Regions from separate parts of the Homo sapiens genome. Here region 2 is linked to region 1. Evidence: promoter capture Hi-C in 16 types of primary human blood cells and fetal thymus (Javierre and others, 2016). All regions are on one chromosome and are shown on one strand. The core of a region is centred on a gene start or on the middle of the fragment in contact, and the rest is flanking DNA. Distances in the headings are between cores, read along the strand shown. Region 1 holds the start of CCDC13-AS1 (CCDC13 antisense RNA 1). Region 2 holds the start of NKTR (natural killer cell triggering receptor).

Region 1 (4,079 bases), core at 1,085-3,584:
GGCATGAGCTTGTAAAGATATTTTGTCTTGGCAGGTGCCTTGAGGGCACAGCTTGGGGCTGCTAGGAGTCAGGCACCTTCACCTCCCTGGGGTGGTGGTGGGGCTGGGTGGTGTCCTTGGGGAGAATTTCTTGACAGGCATGCAGGTCTCCCAGTGACAAAGGAGCCTTGCAGCCTCTGGCCCACTGGGAAATTGACTGGCTCAGCCAAAGGCATGTTGCAAAGCAGCCCTGCTCTTTGTTTCTGGGGATCCGTGGTTTGTTCAGAGGTGAGAGCCCAAGAGCCCCTCGGCCCTGCCTCAGTCTGGCATTGGCTGACCAGCCTGGTTTGTCCTGTAGCCTCTATTCCCACAGGCCAGGGTAGCCTGGGGCCCCAGGACTGGCTGTGACATAGTGCTGTGAGGCTGAAGGGGAGCCTGGGGGCACAAGGAAGTCTGGGAACAGAGCACATACGGCAGTGAATGGGGACTCACCCTGCTCCCCATCCTGGCTCACTGGGGAGGGAAGTCTGAAGGGGAAGATTCCAGCATCTTCACCTCACCACTGTCCTTTCTCCAGGCACACAGGAGAAGACTGTTCCTACCTCCGAGGTCACCAGCTGAATGGGGGCCAAGCATTACCCACCAGACTTAAGTCGGCACACGTTTCGAGTTTTCTCAAAATGGGTGGGGCTGGGGGACAAGCCAGGTTGTTAGGGGCTTACACCGGTTGTCCACTCTGGTGGCCTGACCTCCTGCTGGGGGTCCTCTAATGTTCCTGTCCAGTCCAGCCCCAGCAGGTATCCAGAAGAGGAAGGGGTTGAGGGAGGGGTGGGGGCCTGGCAGGCTTAGCCTCCACCCAAGGCTGCCTGCCCTCACTGAGTCCCTGCCAGCCTCTCTGGCTGCAGGTGTCTGGAAGGTCCAGGTGTTCCAGCTGAGGAAGGCAGCTGGCCTCAAGTCACACCTGGTGTTCAACCACATGTGGGTGGGGCCGCCTGGAGAAGCGGACCCACTCAGAGACGTCAGTCTCTGACCTGCCCCGCATGCAGGGCCGTGCACCTCCCTCTGGAACCTGAATGTAGAACAGCTTCCTGGCCCAGTCACCGTCCTCACACCATGTAGCTTTCTTTCTGAAGAGAGGCATTATTAGATGTCATTATCATGCAAGTAGTGCCTTCACCAAACAGGCCTCGCTTTTCACTCCTGAAAAGAAGCCTCTTTCATATCCTCTGAAAGCCCCGAAATCAAGCCAAGATCCCCTCCTGCCTTCTCTAGGCCTCTGAGCCAAAGCCCTGAGGATGGAACCCACATCTGTTCCTACAGTATCTTCGGAATAAAGGAGTGGGTGAGGGGTCCAGTGGCCGCGAGGTCAGCCCTGCCTATACCCAGTTCCTGGAGGACCCAGGCCTGACCAAGTCCCCGGCCTCAGCAGGCGATCATGTTGGCAGGCTTGGATCTTCTCGGTAAGAAAACAATGGGAGGGAGGGGTTGGAAAGTGAACATTAATTATTCGGAAGAAAGGTTGTTTCTTGCTACCTCTGATGGGAAGCCACAGGTGCAATTTTAAGATGACTATGCTGTTGTTCTTCCAATACGTGGGCCTCTCCTATGACATTAGCTCTGCGTCTGCAGAAATGAGCCGGTTAGGCCCAGATTTTATCACTTCAAGAGCATGCTGGTTGCAGCTCTCTGTAAGAGCCTTTCTGAGCTGGCCTCAAAAGTTTTCTGCCCCTGGGGCCTTCAAACAGACCCGTGTTGGGTTGTTCAAGGCTCTGGTGTCTCCTGTTCTGTCTCATTTTGAGCAAACAAGAGTTCTGGAAAGAAGGGCAGCAAATCCACAGGACTGCTGCAAGGGTTTCCTGGACCCCTGCTGGCCACTGCTCCACCTCACATGCAGAGGTGAGGCCCAGTAGGGCCTGGTCTGCCTTCCCAGGCTGATGGGCCCCTTCCGCCTTTACACAGCTCTGTGACCAGCCTGGGCCACACACTGGTGGAATCTGCTCTCACGAGGCCTTCCCTGCCCAGTCCCCACAGGACCTCACCTAGGTATGGACCCCCGACCCCCGGACTCTCACAGTTTTTTCCCATTCTTGATTGCTCAACCAGTATTGCCATCCCATTAAAAGGAGGGGAAACTGAGGCCAGGCAAAGTCCAGGGACTCTTCCAAGGTTACATAAAGACAGGGAGGATCAGGGAAGTCCTGTCCAAGATGATAGAGTAAGCAGCTTCAGAACTAGAATCTTGGCCTCTGACTCCCAGGCTAGGGTTCCTACCTGCTACGTGAGAATTAACCTGAGGAACCTTCCTGGGCCTGGCTTCTAGCACCTTCCCTCATCTTCTCTTGCTCATTGAGAATCAGCCTCTAAGGGGAGAATTTCACATGATATGGGTTCCCACTGATATCCCCTCAGACCTTGGGCCCCCTCTTTGTTGACAGAATCAAGCCAGAGGGTGTAAATGGGCCCTTTGTTCCTACTGCCAGCCCATAGACAAAGGACAGCGTTGTCCTGCCTCTAAGCCCTGTCCCGAGCCCTGCCCACTGTCCACTGGAGCCATGCTCCTGCTGTCAACACTCCCCACCCTGACCCCTCAGGCAGGTCAGCTCAGGTTCCAGGCAAAGCCTCCAAGTGGCCCCAGTCCCTCATCTCTGTGGCTCCAGGCAAACTGGTCCTTCTCTGGGCTGCTATCCCCGAAAAGTGGGGGACAGCATGCTGCTGACACTTGGCAGCATAGGGTCTGTGGGCCAAAGCTGCCCCACCCATCAGGCTGGGGTCATAAAGGCACTTGGGGAGAGTGGGCTGACACTGAGCCACAAGGCATGTGCCACGCTCCTTAGGGTGGGAGGTCTTGTCACAGCACAGGGAGATTGGGGAGGCTCTGCCTCTCTGAGGTTTTAGTCACAGTAAAGAGAGCAGGAAGATGGACAAGATGACCCCTTCGAGCCCCTTCCAGGCCTGTGTGGCTGTGACCTCTGTGCCACACAGAAATACAGGAGCTGCTCTGTGCCTTGGCTGCCCAGACTGCTGGTTGTCAGGCTTGTTTCTTCCACAACACACAAATACTTACTAAACTCGACCATGTGTGGGCCCTACCCTCATGGAGCTTACAGTCCCCTCCCACAGGTGACAGGACAGGAATTCACAGGGCAGAGTGATCCCAGAGAGTATGTCTATTCGGGCTGGCATGGTTTGAACCCATTCCCTTCAGGTGACTCTGGTGGGGTGCCTGGGAGGAGGGCAGAGTGAAGAATCGGCCCTTTGCTCCTGCTCCTCCTCTTCCCACATTCTAGAACTGGGGAAATGAATGGGGCTTTCCAAACTGCAGTGCACACACAGAGCCCCTGCTGATCAGCCAGGTCAAGTGTGGGTTCTGATTCAGCAGGTCTGGGGTAAAGCCTGGGATTCTGCATTTCTAACAAGCTGCTAGGAGATGCCAGAGCCACCGATTCAGAGACCACTTGTAGTAGCAAGGCCTTAGAGCATATTTAGGAGTCACAGAGGGGTCTGCAGTTCTCGGAGCCCATCTAAACCACCCCTCTCAATGTTTAGTGGGGGAACTGGGGCCAAGAGAGAGGAAGAGACCTGCCCAAGACCACCGAGAAGTCAGCCCTCAGGATCACATGCCCCAGCCCAGTTTTCAGTACACTGCCCAGCTCTGCAGCCTTCCCTATGCCCTGTACTGCTAGAAAAGTAAGCTCAGGGTCTCACTGGGAAAAGTGGGGGCACAGCGGAGAGCAGCTTGGAACTCACATGTGGGCTCTGGGGGGTTGAAGTTGGGGGGCAGAGTTTACCTTCTGTCCTGGCTCCAGCCAGCAGGTAAGAGGGAAGCAGTGATGGGTTGGCTTAGGGCTGGAGAAAATTGAACAAGTCACAAAGCCAAATGCACAGGCTCCAGGAAAGTGGGCTGGGCTTGGGGACCAAGCCAGAAGATGCAGGAGGGCTGGGAGAGACTGGCAGGGACACAGAGACTGGGCACACCTGACACTGGGTAGGGCAGCCAGGCCCCAAAGGCCACACAGATACCCAGGGCACCCCAGGTCCCCAAGAGCCACCTGCCACAGCACCAGACTAATTCCAGGCCCCCACAGGGCTTGGATGGACAG
Region 2 (4,079 bases), core at 1,155-3,654, 130 kb after region 1:
TTGGTCATACTTCTACTCTTCAGCAATCTACTATTTTTCTTTTCTTTTCTTTTTTTTTTTTTTTGAGACAGGGTCTCACTCCGTCACCCAGGCTGACATGCAGTGGTATAATCTCTACTCACTGCAACCTCTGCTTCCCAGGCTCAAGCAGTCCTTCAGTCTCAGCCTCCCAAATAGCTGGGACTACAGGCAAAAACTAAGAGAGCCACCATGCCCAGCTAATTTTTTTATTTTTTGTAGAGATGGGGTTTCGCCATGTAGGCCAGGCTGGTCTCGAACTCCTGACCTCAAAATGATACACCCGCGTCTGCCTCCCAAAGTGCTGGGATTACAGGCGTGAGCTATTTTTAATTCTTAATAGAAAATAACCCTGTTATCTAAAGCATGGATTCACTACAAAATAAAGATTAAGGTCCATCAAGGCTTTCTAGTAACACTTATTTAAAAAAAAAAAAAAAAAAGATCAATCAAGGCTAAAAACATTAAAAAGAGAGAGAAGGCAACCAAATTTCCAGGATTATCTCATCCCTTTGCTCGAAACCCTTTAATATCTTCCTACCTCACTGAGTCAGTCCTACAGGCCATTTCTTACTATTCTCTTTCCTCTTCTACTCCAGCCACACTGGGCACCCTGCTGTCCCTCAAACATGCAAGTACAGTCCTCCATTGTTTAATAACCAGGACGGATTCTGAGAAATGTGTAATTAGGCAATTTCGTCATTGTGTGAACATCATGGAATGTATTTAAACACACCTAGATGGTACGGCCTACTACACACCTAAGCTATATAGTCTATTTGCTCCTAGGCTACAAACCTGTACAGGATGTTACTCCACTGAATACCGTAGGCAACTTTAACACAATGAAGTATTTGTATATCTAAACACAGCTAAACATTAAAAAGTTACCAAAAAAAGGTATTATATATAAGACCATTGTTAAAGATAGAAATGTCATTTGGCGCCTGACTGTATACTACTCCTCACCTCAGGGCTGTGCTGTTTCCCTCTACCACGAATGCTCTTCTTAAATACGGCTCACTTCATCTCCTTCTGATACCTGCTTAAATCTCATCTTCTCAAAATGGCCTTGTCTGACCAACTTATTAAAATAGTATCCCAACTACAAGTCACTGTTATTTTTTTCCTAGTTGTCCGTCTTCCCCCCAATAGAATATAAACTATAAAAGGAAGAGGCCTTTGTTTTATGCGCTGCTCTATCTCCAGACCCTAGAACAGTAGCAGGCTCTCATAAGAATATGCAGAACAAGATGTTGCACAAAGACAACACATATATATATGTCTCCAATTAAAACTTTTGTCACGGATAACAAAAAAAGCTAAGAAAACAGTTTGAAACCCTGCACGCTCTGCTACTTAGAATGAAATAACTATGCTTTAGAAGGAAATGTTTCATTTAAAAAAAATACACTAACAAATGTCTGGATTCCCTAAAGACAAACATTAATGCTAAGTGCATGCATGCTGCAATTCTGCTGGTACAAAATGCTCTGGTTTATCACAAAAGATCTTCACTAAGCCATTTTCCCAGGAACCACGAAATTCTAGCTAAAGATTCTTAAGGAAAAATAGAGGCAAAATTAACATATTAGTGATATATCGTGATTAGGAAACACACAATATTTCCTACTAGTTGAAACTTCATAGCACCAAGCAAGATAACCGGAAATCGGATCGGGAGTGTCTGCCTCACGGAGACACTGGGAGAGAAAAAGTCCTCAAAGAACTGCACCTCCTTTTCTTGGCGCCAGGCTGGCTACGAGGACTCAGTCCGGAGATGCAGCGGGGTGTGTGGGGTTTGGCAGGAAGAGGCCCGGACTGCGAGTTAGGGGTGTGCCCAGGCCACCTTCCTCTCCCACTGATTTTCTCTCAAGAGAAAACGGAAAGTTGCCTGCGCCTCCTACCCGCTCCCAAAAAGGCCGGGGGAGGGTTGCTGAGGGTAGACCCCTCCCCTTCGCCAAGGCAGGCCTCGGCCCCAGCAGCGCTCCCCAGTTTCCAGCTCACCCGGCTCCCGGTTGATCTCGATGTCGAAGTGGCACTGCGGCCGGTCCTGCGCCCCCATCGCGACCGAGGTGGCGGCAAGAGCTGGGAGAGAGGGGGAGAAAAGCGGTCAGGGCAGGGGCGAGGGCGGGGGCGAGGGCAGGGGCGAGGGCGGGGCTGAGACGAAGTCCGCGCCACGGTGCCTCACGCCGGCCCGTCGCGACAGCGCAGGAGGCCAAGACGAGGCCCCCTCCCGCCCCGGGCCTCGCGGCTCCCACGCAGCGCGCACGCATGCGGGCGAGCTCTTCACCTGGCTGGCCTCCAGCCTGAGCGGGTCCCCGTGAGCAGAAGAGAAAGCACTGCCACTGCAGCCAAACCCCAACGCCGCTAACGGAACGCCGTCTCCTCCCCCAGGCCGGGCCTCCCAATGCCACGCTAAACCCCGCGAGAGTCGGGACAAATACCGCGAGAGTACAGTCTAGATGGGGGTGGTCAACCGAAGGTGGCGGCAGCGGGGGCGTACGCACGGGGGCGTACGCACGGGGGCGTGTCTGGGGAGCTCTCGAGGAGCCTCCAGCCAGCGCTCCTATACCTGCGCGTTCCCTGTTTGCCCCCCCCTTTGAAGTCAGTCGCCCAATCTGAAAGCCGTGGATGCGCCTGCGCCCTCCATCTCGTCAGGTGTGGCTGTGAGCGCCGCGCATTTTCCGATACCGCGAGACTTCTCTGTTTCCGAGCGCTGTGAAGGAACTGAGTGAATTGAGGCTTTGAGTTTTCGTTAGCCAAGACGTTGTGTTGCTCTGTGTTCTTTTTGGCCGGGAGTGGTTATGTCCGTGTCCTACTGTTAGGTCTTTTAGGCTGAAGAATGCGTTCCTTCCCGCTTTGGCACCAGCGTCACTGGCACCGTTTTTGTCCTGTGCTTACTGACCATTCTGCATCTTTTGTGAAGTTTCAGTTCCAGTCTTCTGCCCGTTTTTAAATCTGGTCCTTCGTGTTTAACAGTTCTGGATACAAATGTTTTGTTAGATATATGTATGCTCTGAATGAAAATCTTTTGTTACATAAATGATTGCGAAGTCTTTTTCCCAATCTGGGCCTGTCGTTTCATTGTTTTGACGTTTTTGGCAAAGAAGTTTTTAATTCTGATTAAGTCAATTGGTCAGTTTTATATTTTAATGGTTTGTGCTTTTCCTGTGCTAGGAAATCTCTGCCTACCTCAAGTTCTTGAAGATATTCTGTGTTCTCATATATGTTTTACATAGTCTTTAACGTGTAAGTCTATGATATGATCTAATATCATTAATTTTTGCTTATGTTGTCAAGTAAGTGTCAACATTTTCCTATTGGGATATACAGTCGTTCCATTACCGTTTGTTGAAAAGACTCTTTTTTTTTTTTTTGAGACGGAGTCTCGCTCTGTCGCCCAGGCTGGAGTGCAGTGGCGGGATCTCGGCTCACTGCAAGCTCCGCCTCCCGGGTTCACGCCATTCTCCTGCCTCAGCCTCCCAAGTAGCTGGGACTACAGGCGCCCGCCACTACGCCCGGCTAATTTTTTGTATTTTTAGTAGAGACGGGGTTTCACCGTTTTAGCCGGGATGGTCTCGATCTCCTGACCTCGTGATCCGCCCGCCTCGGCCTCCCAAAGTGCTGGGATTACAGGCGTGAGCCACCGCGCCCGGCCTGAAAAGACTCTTATACATTGAATTACCTTCGCCTTGTGACCATATATGTGTGGGTCTGTTTCTGGATTTTTGTTCCAATGATCTGTGTCTGAGTACCACACTATTTTATAAGTTTTTTTTTTAAACTATAAAATACACATTACATGGGCGGGCGTGGTGGCTCATGCCTGTAATCCCAGCACTTTGGGAGGCCGAGGCAGGCGGATCACGAGGTCAGGAGATCGAGACCATCCTGGCTAACACGGTGAAACCCTTTCTCTACTAAAAATACAAAAAATTAGCCGGGCGTGGTGGCGGTCGCCCGTAGTCCCAGCTACTCGGGAGGCTGAGGCAGAAGAATGGCGTGAACCTGGGAGGCAGAGCTTGCAGTGAGCCGAGATCGGTCCACTGCATTCCAGC

What was found. Contacts are between HindIII fragments. The CHiCAGO score rates a contact against its expected background, and 5 or more counts as called.
Region 2: the fragment with the promoter of NKTR here is called in contact with the fragment with the promoter of CCDC13-AS1 in region 1 in 17 of 17 cell types (neutrophils, M0 macrophages, M2 macrophages and 14 more); the score reaches 33.4 in neutrophils.

What each region holds. Positions count from the first base shown.
Region 1 is chr3:42,730,830-42,734,908 of GRCh38, reverse strand. CCDC13-AS1 (CCDC13 antisense RNA 1) reads right to left here and starts at 2,334. Exons shown (of 4, transcript NR_046732.1): 1 at 2,251-2,334. CCDC13 (coiled-coil domain containing 13) reads left to right here. Exons shown (of 16, transcript NM_144719.4): 11 at 1,300-1,439; 12 at 1,939-2,022. RefSeq lists enhancers at 419-1,102, 1,103-1,788, 2,318-2,612, 3,965-4,079 and a silencer at 2,318-2,612. The HindIII fragment of the contact is 15,297 bases long and covers 1-4,079 here.
Region 2 is chr3:42,599,011-42,603,089 of GRCh38, reverse strand. It overlaps NKTR (natural killer cell triggering receptor), which reads right to left and starts at 2,404. Exons shown (of 17, transcript NM_005385.4): 1 at 2,312-2,404; 2 at 2,026-2,106. The coding sequence starts at 2,083. It also overlaps a transcript of SEC22C not described here. RefSeq lists a silencer at 2,101-2,310. The HindIII fragment of the contact is 13,164 bases long and covers 1-4,079 here.